2 separate regions of the Homo sapiens genome follow, and region 2 is linked to region 1. The links are contacts of gene promoters, found by promoter capture Hi-C in human tissues and cell types (Jung and others, 2019). All regions are on one chromosome and are shown on one strand. Each heading gives the region's core, a stretch centred on a gene start or on the middle of the fragment in contact. The rest is flanking DNA. Distances are from core to core; before and after follow the strand shown.

Region 1 (5,257 bases), core at 2,683-5,182:
GAATTATAGGTAGGAGCCACTGTGCCAGGCCCACCCTTATAATTTATATTCTTTCTTTCCTAATCAAATCACAAATTTACAAGATTAGTTTTAGCTAACTACCTGCCATCCACAACACACATACTCACATAATACCTGAAAGGCTCTGTGTTAGTGGTTTACAGTAGGCAATTTAAAATATTTAAAAATAGGCTGGGTGCAGTGGCTCACACCTATAATCCCAGCACTTTGGGAGGCTGAGGTGGGCAGATTACCTGAGGTCAGGAGTTCAAGACTAGCCTGGCCAACATGGCGAAACCCCGTCTCTACTAAAAATACAAAAATTAGCCAGGCGTGGTGGCGGGTGCCTGTAATCCCAGCTACTCGGGAGGCTGAGGCAGGAGAATCGCTTGAACCTGGGAGGTAGAGGTTGCAGTGAGCTGAGATCACACCACTGCACTCCAGCCTGGGTGAGAGTGAGACTCCATCTCAAAAAAATAAATAAATAACATTTAAAAATAGCCTTGATAAAGAAAACACTGGAAAAAATTCAGTGTTTAGGTATTTAGCCAAATCTCAGATACTAAGTGGTGAAGGTGAGAACTCAATATGTGCAATTTCAAAGCCCTATCTCTTCATTTATGTATTGCCTTTTAACCATAAATAATCTGTCTCTTCTAGACTCTCACAGAAATTTTTCTGTTATATTATAGATAAACTACATTTGAGTTTATAGATAAACTTGCCTTCAAGTTCCCTTAAGACAAGATCCATGTCTGAGTCACTTATGTATACCCTGCAGTATCCAGTATTGAGCATTGCAAAAAATAAATGTCTAATAAATACTGATGTATTGAAGAAAACAAGCACAAAGAAAACAAGTGTGGTTCAGCTTGTCCTTAGAAACCAGACAAAAGTATCACGTTCTTCTTAGACATAACAGGGTCTCAAACGATATACATTGTATTAACAAACATCACATTACTCAGTGACTTCTGAAAAGTGCTAATGTTTAATCTTATTAGTTACTCCTACAGGGATCAAAAAATGGAAAATTTAATAACAAACTCAAAACCACCAAGGTATTCATAATCTTAATTTACAAGAACTTTGGCAGACAACTTCCTAAAATACCTTATCTGGATCTTTTTGAGAAAACTAATCAATTATGAAACAAAAAGGATGTTTATTTTTCATGATTATACTTACCATAACAGTCTAGCATCAGCAGTAAGCCCCGCAATTGAGATACCAATATGGTTGTCAACATGGAGAATTTTTTTCTGATGAGCTGCAAGCTCTGATTGCGCCCTCTAAATAGAGACATTATAAGATGTAAAAAAAAAAAAAAAAGAGACAAATGTAAAAATAAGTTTACAACCTTATTTTCTATGGTGAAATTTACATTGTTTTCTACAGAGGAAGACATATTTATTACTGTACTTACTTTCAATGCAACCAAAACTGCATGAGTTTTTGATTTCAGACCAACTGTGGCTGAACCTTGTTTAACAGCTTCCATTGCATATTCAATTTGATGAATCCTGCCCTAAAGAAAAAAAAAACAAAAAACACACATCTTAGAAGATCTTTTATAAATTAAAAATTAGGGTTTTCAAATATCAGGTGAGCACAGTTAAATCTCAACTGATTTTTTTTTTAATCAAGAGACCTTTTTTTTTTTTTGAGACAGGTTCTCACTCTGTCACCCAGGCTGGAGTGCAGTGGCACAATCTTCAGCTCAGTACAACCTCTGCCTCCTAGGCTCAAGCAGTCCTCTCACCTCACTGTCCACAGTAGCTGGGACTATAGGCAAGCACCACCACGCCCAGCTAATTTTTGTATTTCTTGTAGAGTCCGGGTTTCATGTTGTTCAGGGTGGTCTTGAACTCCAAGACTCAAGCAATCTACCTTCCTTGGCCTCCCAAAGTGCTGGGATTACAGGCATGAGCCACTGCACCCGGCTGAAAGCTTCTTTTAAAATAAATTTTCTTGTGTATATTTAACGTATGCAACATGATGTTATAAGATACACATATATAGTAGGGTCACTATCGCAGAATGAACACATCCGTTGTCTCACATAGTTACCCATTTTCCTCTGCTGTGGCAAGGGCTATAAACTACTCATTTAACAAAAATCTTGAATACAAAACACTACCTGCATTATTAACTGTAGTCTTCATGTTGTACATTAGATCTTTCCACTTGCTCAACCTACATATTTGCTACTTTGTATCTCCTCTTTTTTCCTCCCCACTGCCACCCCCTACCCTGGTAACCACTGTTTTACTCTCTCTATATATATATTTGCCCTTTTAAACAAAAGATTCCACATATAAGTGAGAGCATGAAACATTTTTCTTTCTGTTTCTGGCTTATTTCACTTAACATAATGTCCTCTAGGTCCATCAGGAAACCTATTTTAATTATAAATGCAACTTCCAAGAACGTCTAAAATAATTATATTCCATTTTCCCCAAGCCTACGCTCTCACAAGTTTCTAAATATATTGCAGCCACAAAAAGCCACTTCACAGAAAAGGTTTAAAAACATTATTTTACCTGGGGGCTCCAAACAGTGACATCATTGTCATACTGATTTCGAAACTAAAAGTAAAAGAAAAAAATACCTGTTAATAGAAGAACATTTCAAATCCCAACTCTTAACATTCATTAAGAAATATGCTTGTATTTCCATTCAATGTTAAGGCACTCTGTTCATGCAGTCTTACTGGAAGATTACTACTGTACTCAGATGTAAGCCAATTCTACATTTACCATAAACTCGTGGGAGAGGGAGAAGCAGATCTAAATGGGTCCTATTTTTCCAAACTCTTATTCTAACACCCTCCATATCAACCCCTTTAGGCTCAATTACTAAAGTTCACAATCAACTTTCTTGCCTATTTTTGCTTATGCTGCTCCCTTTTATTGGGCCCTAATAAATGGTTAAAAGTCTTCCTTTTCTTTAAGGTAGCTTAAATGTCGATTTCTTGAAGTCTTCTCCTTTTCTTCCCAAATCCCCCTAACATATACTCCCACAGCTCTTTATCTAAACGTCCCTTTCTGTTTTTATGATTAGGGACATGTATGACTTATTTTTTAATGTTCACTGTAGTTATGCCTGTACAAGTGCTGTCTGTATATTCACATTGAATGAACAAAAATGTCCTCACAAAGTTAGAGGTGGACACAAATAGCTGCAGCGATAGAACCATTACGGCTATTACGACTATTATAATAATAGTCATGGGAGTGAGATTGAGTGCTAGAATGGCAGACAGAACTGGAAACCCAGAACCCTATATTGTAACCCTGATTCCATCACTTCCCCTCTCAGCCTCGGCTTACTCATCCGCAACTAGGTGACTGGACAAAATGATTGAAAAGGGCCTCTTCTAATCGAAGTCTAGGCGAGAGATAAATAGACGGACCCACCAGGAAAACGGACGCTGTCCAGGAACACAAACCTGGGGGTCAAGTCCGCACTGGTGGTACAGGTAGGCCTCCAAGTCAAGTCTCTGTCTTCTCCTCTCCCATACACAGCACTAGGAGCTATTCTGGACCGCTCAGAATCTACTCCACTGAAGGAACCTGAGGGGCGAACTCATCTAGCTGACCGAGGAGGAAGTGTCGGAGGCTCCCCGGGAAGCGAAAGCGGTGGAAAGGCCGCACTGGCTACCGATAACCCCTAGCCCGGCCAGGCCGGAGATGCTGAATCACTGCCGGAGCCCGGCCGTCTGCCGAGGCTCTCATACCTCGTGGCACCGGGCGACGCTAAGGATGACAGGAGAGGTGGCTCGTCATCCCCCAGTCACCAGAGCTCTGCCCTAAACCTTCCAGAGATCGGGATTCAACGTACCATGGTGGCGGCGCGGGCCTGGTTGCGGCCTCCAGCAAAACTGAGAATCAAGGAGGTGCTGCCGAAAGTATCGCTCAGCGATCTACAGAGAAGTCTGCGGGAGTTTGACGGCGGCGGCGCAGGGTAGCGCAGTCTATTCCAGAGATATCGATAGGCTTGCAACACTTCCCCCTCCTTAAAACTTTCCGACCGCTCGGCGGCGGGCGGAGCCTCGGAAGATCTAGGAACTGAGACTGGCGGGAAAACCTGGCTGGGAGTGCCGGCGGCTGAGAGCTGCGGGGCAGCCCCTGTCACGTAGCCCTTCTAGGTTCCTGTGTATGGCGGATTCCCTCCAGTTTCTCCCGCTGGCGGGCTGCATCTAAAGTCGTCCGAGTCAACAGCCGTGACTCTGGGTGATACTAGCTCTCATTAACCGTCCACAGATTTGGGGTGTTATGTGACTGAAAGGAACGAGGCTGCAGGAAAGCCACAAGATAACGATCCGTTTCTGTGTGTCAGCTGTATTCTTCCTCGAGTATCTTGTTTGTGTACATGCTTTTATTTGCATTAAGGTTGGTGCAAAAGTAACTGCGGTTTTTGCCATTTGGCAAAATACTTTGGAATGCTCTTCCTTATTCCCTGGAGATGTTATCTTTCAAGGGTCTGTTGTCGTTAACCCCTCATTGTTATTATGATTGATTTCTTCCACCAGACTTTGAACTCCATGAGGGCGCTAATGTCTTTCTATGCCCCCAAAACCAAGCATGGTACCTGACAGATTAGGCCACTGAGAAAAAATGGACACTTTCTTTCGATTTATCTATTTCGTCTTTTGAGAGCATCTTTCCATAACGAAATAGTCTGACATCCACCGGCTATTTATATTCTTTGTAAAAAAGAGACTGGGTGTGGTGGCTCACGCCTGTAATCCCAGCGCTATTGGAGGCCGAGGGCGGAGGATCGCTTGAACCCAGGAGTTTGAGATCACTATATTATTTTAATACAGTGGGACCTCGTCGCTACAATAATAATAAGAATAAGAATAAGAATAAGAATAATAAAAAAAAAAGGCTGGGCATGTTGGCATGGGCCTGTGGTCCCAGCCACTCGGGAAGCTGATGTGGGAGGATCTCTTGAGCCAGGGAGATCGAGGTTGCAGTGAGCCATGGTCGCGCCGTTGCACTCCAGCCCGCCTGGGCAATAGAGATTCTGTTTCAAAAAAAAAAAAAGCCGGGCGCGGTGGCTCACGCTTGTAATCCCAACACTTTGGAAGGCAGAGGCGGGTGGATCACGAGGTCAGGAGATCGGACCATCCTGGCCAACATGGTAAAACCCCGTCTCTACTAAAAATACAAAAATTAGCCGGGCGTGGTGGCGTGCCTCAGGAGGCTGAGGCAGGAGAATCGCTTGAACCCGGGAGGCGGAGGTTGCAGTG
Region 2 (5,637 bases), core at 224-2,723, 590 kb after region 1:
CTCCCGGCTGAGACTATTCTTATCATACCACCTGCCCTACCGGAAACAGACTCAGAGAGAAGATTCTGCAAACAGTCTGTAAGACTGTGGTTTCAGTGGTAATGCCCAGCCAGGCGGCACCAAGCCCTGTCCCCAGCCCTAGACAGCACTTGTTGAAACAGGAACTGAGGCCCCTCTCAGGGAACTTGGGGAGTAGAATCAGGCTGTTCTGGATGACTGGAGGGTAGAGTTGAAGCTGGCTTGTCTGAGAGGAATGATTTGGCCACCTTCTGAGCCCTGGGCCCCCAGAGAGCTGAGGAGGAGAGTTAATATCAGAGAGCTACTGTGTGTGTTCGAGTCCAGGGAGCAGCAGTTAGCTTCAGCCAGAGCCTGAAAAAAGAAATAGAGATTATTAGCATTAAGGAAGAGAAGGCTGCAGTGGGACCTCGGCGTGGTCGTTTTGTCATGGGGACTGAGTTGAGCTCCTTCTCCCTGAATACATATTGTGAGCAAATTGACATAGTTTGCATGTGAGAGATTTAGGTTAGATGTCAAGGAGATCTTTCTGTCAGTAAGAGAGTTCAAGCTTTGGAACAGGGCTCAAGGGAGACCAGGGGCTGCCTTTGCTTGAGGACCTCCAAGAATAGGTCAAGATTCTCTGGGCTCTGGGAGCCTCATAGCAAGATGGCGGAGGCGGGGGAGGGGGAGTTGTATGAAATGATCTGGAAGCTTTCTTCCAGGTCAAAAATGCCACATTCCCGAGCTTTTGGGTAGGAATCAAGTTCCTCTAGATTTAGCTATTTGACAGAGTCCAGGACGGGGGTGGGGGGTGGGGGGTGGGGTCTGATCTTATGTGCCGAAGTTAGAAGGAGTTTCTGCAACAACCCCTCGTCATTTTTGGCAGGTCCAAGATGTGGAGGGTGACTTAGGTGTGTGTGAGCAAGGTTCCAGAGGGAAGCACCTGCGGTGAATAAACCGTCTCATTCTAGGCGTTTGGGGTCTATCAAAGCTGGGTGGCTTCCTCCTTCCTAGCAAGTGAACTGCACCCAAATCCCTCCTTGTTTTGTTTCAGCTCCAAGGGAAACGATCGCGGCACATTCCCTTCCCCTCTCCAGATGTTGGCATGCGGGGCACCTTGTGGGCGACCCCGCCTGGACGGCTTCGCGGCTCCCGGGCGATCACCCTGGTGCCTGCCGCCTGGCCCGGGGGAGCCCGGTCTCTAATTAGGCCTGACCGCGTCCCCATTCCAGCGCTCCTGCAGATGGGAGGGAGGGCCATGTTTCCCCCCCCAGGGGCACCGAAATAGCCTCGTAGTCCCGCGGAGACAGCAGGCAGCCGTGGCTGACGCGGGACCAAGGCTTGGCAGGGAGCGCGCTGCTGTGGAAGGTCCTTGGGAGGCTGCGACCGCCTCGGAGAGGGCGGGCGGGGGAGAACGGGGCGGGGGGTGGGGCGGGGGCCAGGGGCGGCCTCTCGGGCTGGGCCGGCAGAGCGGCCACTTTGCGCGCGGCCTCTGGAGCTCCAGCTGCGCCCCGCCACCACTGGCCGCTCGCACTACCAGCCTGTCTCGCACGCTAAGTAAGTAGACAGCTCCCCTAGCTGGATTCAGGGGGCTGGTGATGCCTCTGCTAGCCTAGTTGGGAACAGTGCAGGTTTGTCACTAATTGGATAGTAGGTGTAAGTGTGTCAGTGGGAGTGCTTGTGAAGGGGAGCTTGCGCCAGTGTGAGGGAGTGTGTCTGGATGGGATGTCCACATGTGGAATTTTCTAGCATGTGCCCCAGGGTGCGAGTGTGGGTGAACGAGTGTGTCAGAGTGTGTGGTGGCCTGGAGTGGGCCACAGGTATTTGCCTGTGTGGCACCTGCTGCCCTGGGTGCACTGTGTCTGTACCTGTGGAAATGCCTGTGTGTGTGGCAGGAAGGCCCCCAGGTGGGCTGAGCCAGTCCACATGTGGATGAGTGGATGTGCCAGTGTGAACCCAGGAAGGCAGAAATTGGGGCTAGGGAGTGTTATCTGAACTCAGGCTTTCTAAGGTGACCTGACTTGTCCCAGCTGGGGTGTCTTCTCTGTGGGTCATTCAGCTTTGGTTTCTCAGGGCTTGGAGAAGGACAGAAGCTCAGAGCCCTCACACAACACTGGAGTGAATGTGGCTCTGACTAACCCCATCTGGCTAGACCAGGGTCAGGGAGACAGCTTGGGAGACCCCACTCTTAAACCAGGAGAAGAGACAGGAGGCCAGGGGATGAGTGGACCATATGGCCATGGCCACCCACAAACACTCGCAGTGCACCCACGCTTACATGCTCAGCATACACACATTCCTGTCCATGTGCACCAGTCTTGCACACACTCTTCTCAGGATAGCCATGCAACCATTCACACTTTCAACATGTATACCTGTGGACAACGACATGTATGCAACATGCACCCACTTTGTTCAATGCATATGCGCAAATGTATCCCTGGTGTGGCCCCACCCTCAGCCGCTAGCCTCCTCCCACTTTTGCCCCTTTTAATCTATATATTATACCTCTGACAATGGGTCCAAGAAACTGGCCTCAGTGGGGAATATTTTAAGTCAGGGACTTTGGCTGTGGGGGTCAGGGCAGATGGTGATGTGGTGCCTTTGAGGGGTTCCATTGAATCTGAAACTGAGGCTGTCCATGGAGCTCAGCCAGAGAGCATCTTGTCCCTTTAGCTCTGGGACTTAGAAGCACTGTTCGCCCTTTTAGAAGTGAAAACTTCCAAACACTGCCTTTGGAAGGCAAGCCAGGTCAGGCTGGGATCTGACATGGAGCTCAGCATATATAATTTGCTCCATGCTGTAGTTTATACTCTGGATTACACTTGCTGCAGAGAAGCAGTGACCTTTCTGGGTTGGGTCCCAAGGCAACCATTTGGCAGGGAGGACAGTGAATTGAGCTGGGTTGATTCTTTCTCTTCTTTGGTTTCGTTCAACCCTACTTTGAGTCTCCCTCCCACAGGCTGGTGGAGGGATGGCATTTGCTCTGCTCCTTTCCTTTCTTCCAGTGGTTATCTTTTTTTCTGGACAGAATCTTCTCCATGACCTCCTCCCCCTGGTGACCACTGGGCACACACTATACAGCGCTTGGAAGAGTAGGTGCCCTAAAATACCAGCTGAGTGGTGGTGTTATTCTTCTTAGTAGAGCTTCTAGACCTGTCCCATCCTGGCTATTCTCTTCTGAATACTTCAGTGAGGTACCCAGACTAAATGTGCTCTTTCAGCTGGGAAGTTAGAAAGATGGTATTGAGCTTCCTTCCTTCCCTTCCTTTCTTCCTTCCTTCTCTTTCTCTCTTTTCCTTCCTTCCTTCCTTCCATTCTTTCTTTTTTTCTTCCTTCCTTTCTTTTCTTTTCTTTCTTTTCTTTCTTTCTTTCTTTCTTTCTTTCTTTCTTTCTTTCTTTCTCTCTCTCTCTCTCTCTCTCTCTCTCTCCCCCTCCCTCCCTCCCTCCCTCCCTCCCTCCCTCCCTCCCTCCCTCCTTCCTTCCTTCCTTCCTTCCTTCTTTCCTTCCTTCTTTGATGGAGTCTTGCTCTATCGCCCAGGCTGGAGTGCAGTGGCATGATCTCAGCTCATTGCAACCTCTGCCCCCCGGATTCAAGCGATTCTCCTGCCTCAGCCCCTGAGTAGCTGGGATTATAGACCCCCACCACCATGCCCAGCTAATTTTTGTATTTTTAGTAGAGATGGGGTTTTTCCATGTTGGTCAGGCTGGTCTTGAACTCCTGACCTCAGGTGATCTGCCTGCCTAGGCCTCCGATACTGCTGGGATAACAGGTGTGAGCCACCATGCCTGGCCTGAGTTTCTTCTTTCTTAGTGTTTATGGTTTAGTCTAAGGGGTGACTAAGCTCTCACCCACCAACTCCTCTAATATGCAGGAGAGCAAGTTGGGTTCAACCATTTTTTGAGGGGAATGCTGGGATCTAGCTTCTCTTTGGCCTGATCCTACACCTGACCCTTGGGAATGGTTAAAAAAGGGCAGGCTATGGTCAGTCCAGCAGAATAAAGGTGGCAGGGGAAGGAATTATTTTCCCATTGTGCTTCCCTTGTCACTCTGCTTGCTGGGAAGCTCTTAGTCCATCATATGGCTCTGTTGTAATAACTATGTTAGTTGGAACCATTGCTTTGACTTCTAATTTCTGCTTTATCAACTTTATAGAATACATATTTTTAACTGTAAACTTCCACATCCTTTGTTGAAGGAAATCAGAACAAATAAATGAAAAACCAGCAATTAAGCATTCTATTGGTCTCTGGGGATGGGAATCACACTGGATTTTCCTGGGACATCCTCAATTTCAAATATGTCATCTGGTTTTCAACTCATATGTCTCAATTTGGCTTCTGTACCTTTGAACTCTAATTGGTGACGATGTCTTGGAGGTTTTTTTCCTAGTAGCTCTGGGACATAATGCCCATCTCTGTGCTGGCTCAGACAAGGGGGATAGTTGAGAATGAATTGGGCCATTGATAAACACCCCCTGCTCCGAGTGTTTCAGCTGCCAGCTCTTCCCTGTCTCAAAAGCTCAAGTGTCTGGGTGCCCGAAGGAGTTTGACCCTTGCCCTAAGCCTGGCCCTGGCCCCGCAGCCACCCCTTCCTCATGTGACCCTGCCCAACTCAGGGCTCTCTGTGTCTCTTGGATCTGAGCCCTCCCCCAGTATGGAACACAACATCTCTGATCAGGGATGGCCCTTGTGGAACTGGAGCTTGGGATGGGGAGCTTGGACTTAGGAGTGTGGAGGAGCACATGAAGGGCTTTACTGCCTCCTTGCCTGGGTCTGTGAGGCTAAGTGGTCAGGGAATCATTTGTCACCTCTTATCTGCAGAGGTGCACCTCATCTGAATGCAGGGCAGGGTTCTAGCCACATTGCAAAGTTGGTGAAACTTCTAATTCACTCCAAGTCAAATTATTTTATGCTGCCCAAGACCACTCATGTTTGGAAAGGAGAAAGCTGGAGGGTAAAGCTTAGCAACAAAGAATGATTAGAATAACTTGAATGGTGGGCTTTCAGGCATTGCATTGAGGTCCTGCTTCTCATTATATCTTATGTCAACCCAAGCTGGTGGCCATTGCCTGCCTTCAAGATATATCCTCCCAGAAGCATTTGATCACAAGGTAGGAAAGAGGAAATCCCCTGTGGCCTGGTACTGAGTAATGTGCTGGTGGCTTGGTATGGGTGAGGTGTTTTTTCCTTCCCAGAAAAGTGTTATCTTAAAAAGGTAAGACTAAGACTGGACCACATCTCTGCTGAATTTTCACACTATTTAGACTCTGGTTGTCCCCTGGGCTTTAAGCTCAACCAAGTGAAAACAGGCTTAAAAGCCAGTAAGAGCATTGTGTGAGATAGTTAGGACTTCTGTGCAGGAAAGGTAACTCACAGTAACTCACTTTTATTTATTATTGACTACTGTCCAGCTTCCTTTTTAGGCTCTTTCCATCTTTTGTTTCATGAAACCTCTATACCAACTCTATGAAATAGTGAAGACTATTTTAAATATAAGGAAACAGAAACACAGCAAGGCTAAACAACTAGCCCAAGGTCAGAGCTAGCAAAGATTCCTTTCCAGATCTGTCTAACTCCAGAGTGTGTAGTGAATGTCCACTGACCACGAGAGATGCCGGCAACTCCCTCATTTCAAAG

The links. Contacts are between HindIII fragments. The study calls those that stand out against the background at their distance.
Region 2: a contact is called between the fragment with the promoter of INSC here and the fragment with the promoter of PSMA1 in region 1, in 1 of the 25 tissues and cell types used here (stomach).

Annotation. Positions count from the first base shown.
Region 1 is chr11:14,516,454-14,521,710 of GRCh38, forward strand. It overlaps PSMA1 (proteasome 20S subunit alpha 1), which reads right to left and starts at 3,933. Exons shown (of 10, transcript NM_002786.4): 1 at 3,844-3,933; 2 at 2,544-2,588; 3 at 1,427-1,528; 4 at 1,189-1,292. The coding sequence starts at 3,846. RefSeq lists enhancers at 3,726-4,340, 3,875-4,064. The HindIII fragment of the contact is 15,381 bases long and covers 968-5,257 here.
Region 2 is chr11:15,113,450-15,119,086 of GRCh38, forward strand. INSC (INSC spindle orientation adaptor protein) reads left to right here and starts at 1,474. Exons shown (of 13, transcript NM_001042536.3): 1 at 1,474-1,554. RefSeq lists an enhancer at 648-1,181. The HindIII fragment of the contact is 4,237 bases long and covers 1-2,834 here.